Linked DNA regions of Homo sapiens: region 2 is linked to region 1. Evidence: promoter capture Hi-C in human tissues and cell types (Jung and others, 2019). All regions are on one chromosome and are shown on one strand. The core of a region is centred on a gene start or on the middle of the fragment in contact, and the rest is flanking DNA. Distances in the headings are between cores, read along the strand shown. Region 1 holds the start of ZNF770 (zinc finger protein 770). Region 2 holds the start of LOC124903464 (a long non-coding RNA gene).

Evidence for each region. The method cuts DNA at HindIII sites, captures the fragments that hold promoters and counts their contacts. A contact is called where the count stands out against the background at its distance.
Region 2: a fragment that was not itself captured here is called in contact with the fragment with the promoter of ZNF770 in region 1 in 1 of the 25 tissues and cell types used here (H1 embryonic stem cells).

Annotation. Positions count from the first base shown.
Region 1 is chr15:34,986,521-34,989,834 of GRCh38, forward strand. ZNF770 (zinc finger protein 770) reads right to left here and starts at 1,767. Exons shown (of 3, transcript NM_014106.4): 1 at 1,596-1,767; 2 at 1,037-1,153. It overlaps LOC105370764 (a long non-coding RNA gene), which reads left to right and starts at 1,838. Exons shown (of 5, transcript NR_188212.1): 1 at 1,838-1,964; 2 at 3,165-3,290. RefSeq lists enhancers at 266-325, 406-455, 1,862-1,951. The HindIII fragment of the contact is 19,041 bases long and covers 1-3,314 here.
Region 2 is chr15:35,433,747-35,437,155 of GRCh38, forward strand. All of the region lies in intron 5 of DPH6 (diphthamine biosynthesis 6), which reads right to left. It overlaps LOC124903464 (a long non-coding RNA gene), which reads right to left and starts at 2,504. Exons shown (of 2, transcript XR_007064580.1): 1 at 1-2,504. The HindIII fragment of the contact is 4,033 bases long and covers 1-3,409 here.

The DNA.
Region 1 (3,314 bases), core at 517-3,016:
AGGTAGTCAATCAGGACAATGAGTCAAACCAAAAGTAATCAAGCCTTTATTCACTTACTGTGACAGTGCAAGCAAGTGGTAAAAAGAGGCACTGGCTCCCCAGTGGTCTACTAAATACAAGGACACTGGGTGAGGGTCAGTTGATGCAGTGCATATGAGGTAATCCTCTCACTGAAAGGAGCCCCTAACAAAAATCTCCTGCCTCTTATGGAACTTCAGAATAGGAAAGGGAGGGGAAGGTCTAGGAGTGAAAGAAGCTGGGTCAAAAATGGAGAAAAGTGTCTTAGCCACGGTCCTTCCTAGGAGGGCCTCCAAATGGAGGTACCCAGGCTAGGAAAGAAGTTATGGGATTTGCATATCTAGCAGGAGGGGCAGGGCAAGTCCTTGACTGCAACCCCCTCCAGAAAACTGCAATGCACCGGCCCATATCGAGTATGGTGTGGGAGGACAGCTTGGCCCTTGAGGCCAGTCAGGCAAAGCCTGGTAATTGTCCAATGTCAGGACTGAATGATCACACAGGATTTTGGTATAAAGCCAGATTCAATTCCTTTTGTATGTTTCTTCTTCCCTTTAATAAATGCTTTCGTGGAACACGCCTAAAAGAAAAAAATCACACACCACAACTACCTCTGATTAAAACAGGGATTGGCTACCTACAGCTCCTGTACCAAAAAGGAGCTACGGTTAATCATCCATTGTTAGCACTAAGATTGGATAACTGTTGTCACTTGCCTCCCACCACGTGGAAAAGCACTTACTGGGAGCCCTAGATTGTTAGAACCATTAGTGGCAAGTGGTGATCCTATCTCCTGTTTATGAGAGTCAGGTTAGGGATCCTCACCTCACGCACTCATGGAGCTCCAAATCCCATTTCAACCGATTTTTGTTGATAACATAAAAATAAAAAAGACTGTAATTTTTCTTATCTTAAACTGAAATAAAAGAATAGTAGATCTGCTCAGTGGTTCAATCCAGAATTTATCCTGACAAGAACAAGATACTCTACGTGAAGACTGTAAAAACTGTAAAAACTGACCTCAATAATATCCAATGTTGCCTCAAGGCTGAAAGCCTGTTGATTTTCTTGTCTTGACTAGTACCATTAAAACGATGTGAGGATTTCACGAAAGTAAGCGAACAAGAAATGAAAGACCTAAGAGAAACACACACAACTTTCAGTTGGGGAATAATCTCCGGCGGCTGCTTCTGCCCCACTCGCCCCGGGCCCATTCTCTTGGCCTTGAACCCTCACCTCTCCCTCCCAGTGGACTACACTGGACAAAGGACACTGACACACAGTCCTCGTTCTAAAGGCCCACAACCAATAATAAGCACGTAATGGTCGAGCCGAGTCCAGAAACCACAAAATCCCACGCCAGGAAAGGAAGGGTAAGGGTAAAAACTGCTTTGGCTGCAGCCAGGATGAAAACGCCACATGTGATACAACCCACAGCAACAACAAAAAAAAATCCCTCTACGCCTTCCTCTCAAATTTCTGCTCCGCGTGAGACGCACTCAATAGGTGGGGAAGTGAGAAAGCAAAAGGAGCTCAGGAACTGAGGTTGTGGAGCCCCCGTTCTTGGGTCCCCAGGCACCTTGGCGGTATTGAGGCAGGTCCGACCCTCCCTGGGGGTCGCTCCACTTCTCAGTCGGGTTTCTGAAGTCCTCCTCACGCATCTGGAGCTGGCGAGGGCCCGGGAGGCACGCACCTCAGGCCCAGGTGCCGCGAAGGCAGCGCGCGCACGTCCGCAGGGCCGGCGCGGCAACGGGCTGAGCGCGCAGGCGCGGCGCTCTGGCGCGCCCAGGGACACAGTCCGGCTGGAAACAAGCTCCCCCCAATTTCAGGGCCGTTGTCGCCTCCGGGCGGTCCGCGGGTCCCGAGCGGACTGGGACTCTGGAGACGTGCCCCCAACCCCACCGCCATTCACCCTGTCATTGCAGGGGAGAGAACAGAATAAAGACGGGTACATTTTCCATCTCACCTCTGAACCTCGGTTAGGAAAACGCTGTAGCCCTGACTAGTGGGCTCAAGGGCCGACTGGAAAAGGGCGAGTCAGCGTTCAAAGCCGATTCGGGGCAGCCCTCTCTAACGCAGAGGGCCGAGGATAAGAAGACGACAATGTGTTAGGGGCCCTCCGGGCTAGGACTGTCCTCACCACTTTGTACATTGCCAAAGTAAATATAACGTAGAGGTCAAGCGCAGGCGCTTTGTGGGCAGACATGACTGAGCTCCACTCGCGACTCCTCTAATGGCGTGCCAGCTGCGGACCTCATTAGCCCCGCCTCAATCATTCAGTATGTTTTGGTTGTCTACAGTGTACGAAGCCCTGTTCTCACAATTAGATAAAATGAGTGTGAAGTGCTCAACATAATTCCTAGTGTAGTAGGCCTTCAAAGAACTATTATCATTATTAATTACTCATATAGAATACAACTTTATGAAATGATAGGATCCCATTTTAAGATGAGGAAAATGAGGCTATCAGAGACGTTAAGGAACTTAATGTCACACAGTTAATAAACGATAGAGGTGCGATTTGAACACAGGTTGTCTAATACCAGACCTGCATTTATAACTGCTGCTTCCCAAGTTATAGATATTTCAGCATTTTATGTAGTCACAATTGAAGACCAAATATTTAGTTACAGACTAAGTTGGCATGTTATTACTGAATAAGATGCTAAGGTATCTACTAAAGATTTTAAGTGCAAAAGGCATTAGAGAAGAATTTACTGTGGATTTTTTGCAGGTTCTGATTGTAATTGTATCACCTTGAGAAAGGAGGAAATGAAAGCAGATTATCAGGCATACTTTTTTAACTCTAAGCAACTTTTTGCATTACTTTCTAAGGACCATCAGCAACAAAAATCAATGGTTTCTAATGTTGATATATTTTCCTCTACCAAAAAAATTAAAGCAGCTGAGCCAACAAAAATTCTCTGTTTTGGATGTGTTAGCATGAGGAAATGGCGAATAGGAAATGAGCTTTTGCTTCTCATGTAGGAACCCTGAAGGAGTCAGATTTGGGAGGGGTTGAAGTCTGCTTCCAACAGAAGCAGGGGTGGAGAAGGGAAAGGAAAGACTTCTGGTGTCCTAAATGCTAGTCCCAAAGTGGGGATGCTGTTTGTCCGGATAACCCTTGTAAATCTGCTCCATTCTGCAGCTACTCCTGGGAAACTTAACTCAGCCAAATAATGCAAACAATTGCATCCATCATCAGCCACATCAGCCTTAGGAGATACATCCATATCATGAGAAAACACTACCTGAAATTGGGGACCACTGGAGGGTGAGATTCGTTCTTTATCCATTA
Region 2 (3,409 bases), core at 699-3,198, 450 kb after region 1:
TGAAGCTCTAAAAAACTGCATGTATCTGGGTCCCATCCCCAGATATTCTAATTTAATTAGTCTGGAGTGCAGTTTGGTCACTGGGATGTTTAAAAGCTCAACAGGCTACAATGATGTGCAGCCACAGTTGAAAACCATTGTTCTAAGAACTTGATTTGGGCCCTTAATATATGTGTCTGTGGAAGAGAAAAGAGAAGGGAGGTAGAGATATCTTTATGTGGTTGTGACATTCCCAAATGTACTGTACAAGGCTGCCCTCTACAATATATAAATCAACTGTCAGGGTACCAAAGCATCTTGCCGTGAAAATGTTTATATCCATCTCTACTATCAGCTTATAAACTAGTACAAATCAGACTCAAAACAGCAGATACATTTCTGAAAAAAATACAGCAGGCCAGTTTGAGTCAAAGGTCAGTCGTTTCTATCTCTGGGAGGTAAGGATACCTAATACGACTAGGTCTCTGGTCCACTTATAGGCCTAGTCTCTTCAATTCCTTATATTGATTAGGAAGTGATAAAAAGGGACTATTACAACTTTGATGTTGATATTTTAAAAATCATAATTTAAAGAACACCTTTGAAAAGATTAAAGCTAATTATTAATAGAATGCATTACTGCCAAAACAACAGAGGGCACTAAAATATTCCATATAGCAAAAGGTAGAAAATAAAGGGAAAAGCAGTAAAACAAAAAATTGATGACATAAAATGAATAAAATAAGTAGAAAAATTAAGAAATAATTAATTGATTATATCAGTAAAAACAGTTAAACTTTTTAAGACAAAGATTGGGTCAATAATAAAATCCAATGTTACGCCAATTATAAAATGCATCTAAAAGTATATGCACGCACACACACATAGAAAAGTGAAAATGAAAGAACAGGCAACAATGTATCAGGCAAATGTAAAGAAAGGTTGCAGTGGTCCTATCATTAACATCAAAACAAAATTCAAAGCAATAAAGATGAAAAAATATATAATTAAGAAACATAAATTACTACTAAGGCTTTTTTTGTTTGTTTGTTTTGTTTTCTTTTTGAGACAGAGTCTCACTCTTGTCGCCCAGGCTGGAGTGCAGTGGCATGACCTCAGCTCACTGCAACCTCCGGCTCCCAGGCTCAAGTGATCCTCCAACTGCAGCCTCCCAGATAGCTGGGACTACAGGTATATGCCACCATGCCCAGCTATTTTTTTTTTTTTTTGTACAGACAGGGTTTCACCATGTTGCCCAAGCTGATCTTGAATTCCTAAGCTCAAGCCATTTGCCCACCTGAGCCTCCCAAAGAACTGGAATTACAGGTGTGAGCCACTATGCCTGGTCACTAATGAGTTTTGGTGAGTTAAGTAATACTGTATTGTTAGAAATAAAGTAAAAAACTTCCTTCCCCAGTAGAATGGTCGATTATCTACACGACCCTTCCACAAAAATACACCTGGGTGCTGCATAACATTAAATCAAGTTTAGTCTAAAGCTGCCTCCTTACATATTTTAAGTTTGACCTAAAGGTATCTCTGTACATCGTGAAATACAACAAGTAGAGGTGTAAACACACCATAGCCTACACGTGACAATTACTGAGTTTTGGACAATCAAATGTAGACAACTGTTCGAATGGCTTCAAAAAAGGCAAACATTGAGCAGTAATTGATAGATGCAGGAGGCAGAAAAGGGAACCTGCACAGGGTTTTGCCTGGGCATGCCTGCAACAGACTGGGGGTCTGCATGAGCACTGGGAGAATGGGGTAAAGCCACCAGGAATTCATGCCTTATGCAGGGGGAGGAGTCAGGCCTCTTCAGCTCATGTGTGGTGGCCTGGTATTCAATCTGTGATGTGGGTGCATGTTGGCAGGACCCCCTCTTTCTTTTCTGAGAGCATTCTTTTTGCCTAATAAATCTGTCCTCCTCACCCTTCCATGTGTCTGTATGCCTAATTTTTCTTGGTTGTGAGACAAGAACCCAGATTTTTAGCTGAAGGAGCAAAAAATCTTGCATCATTTTGGTGGTCCATACGGGCATATGAGGAGGGGTGAGTAAAATGTGGACCAAAAAATCTCTTTTCCTTTTGTTTCTGAGCCTTCTTGTCCTTGGACTTCTTCTGAGGGTAGAGGAAACTGTGGTCCCTTCTTCGCTCTCGGGGTTTGGGAATGTCAGCCTTGGTCCAAACCAGCCTTTTCTATGGCATTTTCCTTCTTTTTTTTGGGACCGTAATGGCACCTATCTTTTCTTTTACTATAGCAGTCATCCACCTCCACCCCAATGGCTGTAGGTGCACATATGGCCATAGCTGCTGCCCTGGCCCCAGGGCAGTCTCAGGGGCCAGAGGCCCTGCACGTCCAGCTGAGCAGCATACCTCGCGACACCTCCATGGAGTCCCCTCATTCCCTGGCCGAGGGGTCTAGCTCAGTCCGACAGCAATTGAAAGCTTCTTTCCTGCTGGGCGCGGTGGCTCATGCCTGTAATCCCAGCACTTTGGGAGGCCAAGGCAGGCGGATCACGAGGTCAGGAGATCAAGACCATCTTGGCTAACATGGTGAAACCCCGTCTCTACTAAAAATACAAAAAATTAGCTGGGCGTGGTGGTGGGCGCCTGTACTCCCAGCTACTCGGGAGGCTGAGGCAGGAGAATGGCGTGAACCAGGGAGGCGGAGCTTGCAATGAGCCGAGATGGCGCCACTGCGCTCCAGCCTGGGAGACAGAGTGAGACTCCGTCTCAAACAAAACAAACAAAAACAAAACAAAACAAAACAAAACAAAACAAAACAAAAAAGGTTCTCTCCCTGTTCGTCACTGCACTCCAGCCTGGGTGACAGAAAGAGACTCCATCTCATAAAAGAAAAAGTTTCTCTCCTGTTGGAGAAATCCATTTGCATAAGAATAAGAGGTTTCTTGCTCAGGCACCTTTTTCTTTCCTCCACCCTGTCAGCAGTGAATACAGCTTTGCATTTAAGTTTTTTTTGTTTTTCTCCATCCTGTCTCAGTTAAGACAGCCCTGCCTTTAAGTTTTTTTTTTTTTCTTTTCTCCACCAGGTCAGGAGTTAAGTTTTATGCAAGAGGCTTTTTTTTCTCCCCCTTTTAGAGGACATTTTACTAGGCCAGGACACCCTTTTCTCTCCCTTGTTGGAGGACTCAATTCCACAGCTTCTCCTTAGCATTTGGCTTATGATAAGGAGTCCATGCAACCCCCGAGACACATTTTTGTCCCAAACTCAATTCCAAGTTTTGGAGCTCGAAGGCTACTAACAGCAGGGGAGACAGGGTGTACGTGGGTAACAGCAGATAATCCCACTCCCTAGGCACCCATGTTTACATGGGTGAAAGCCACTTTGACGCCCATGGTGGCACCCTGTCACAGTTGCTGGGCCTCAGGGATACTCAGACGAAAGAAAGAGGGATGCCTCACTT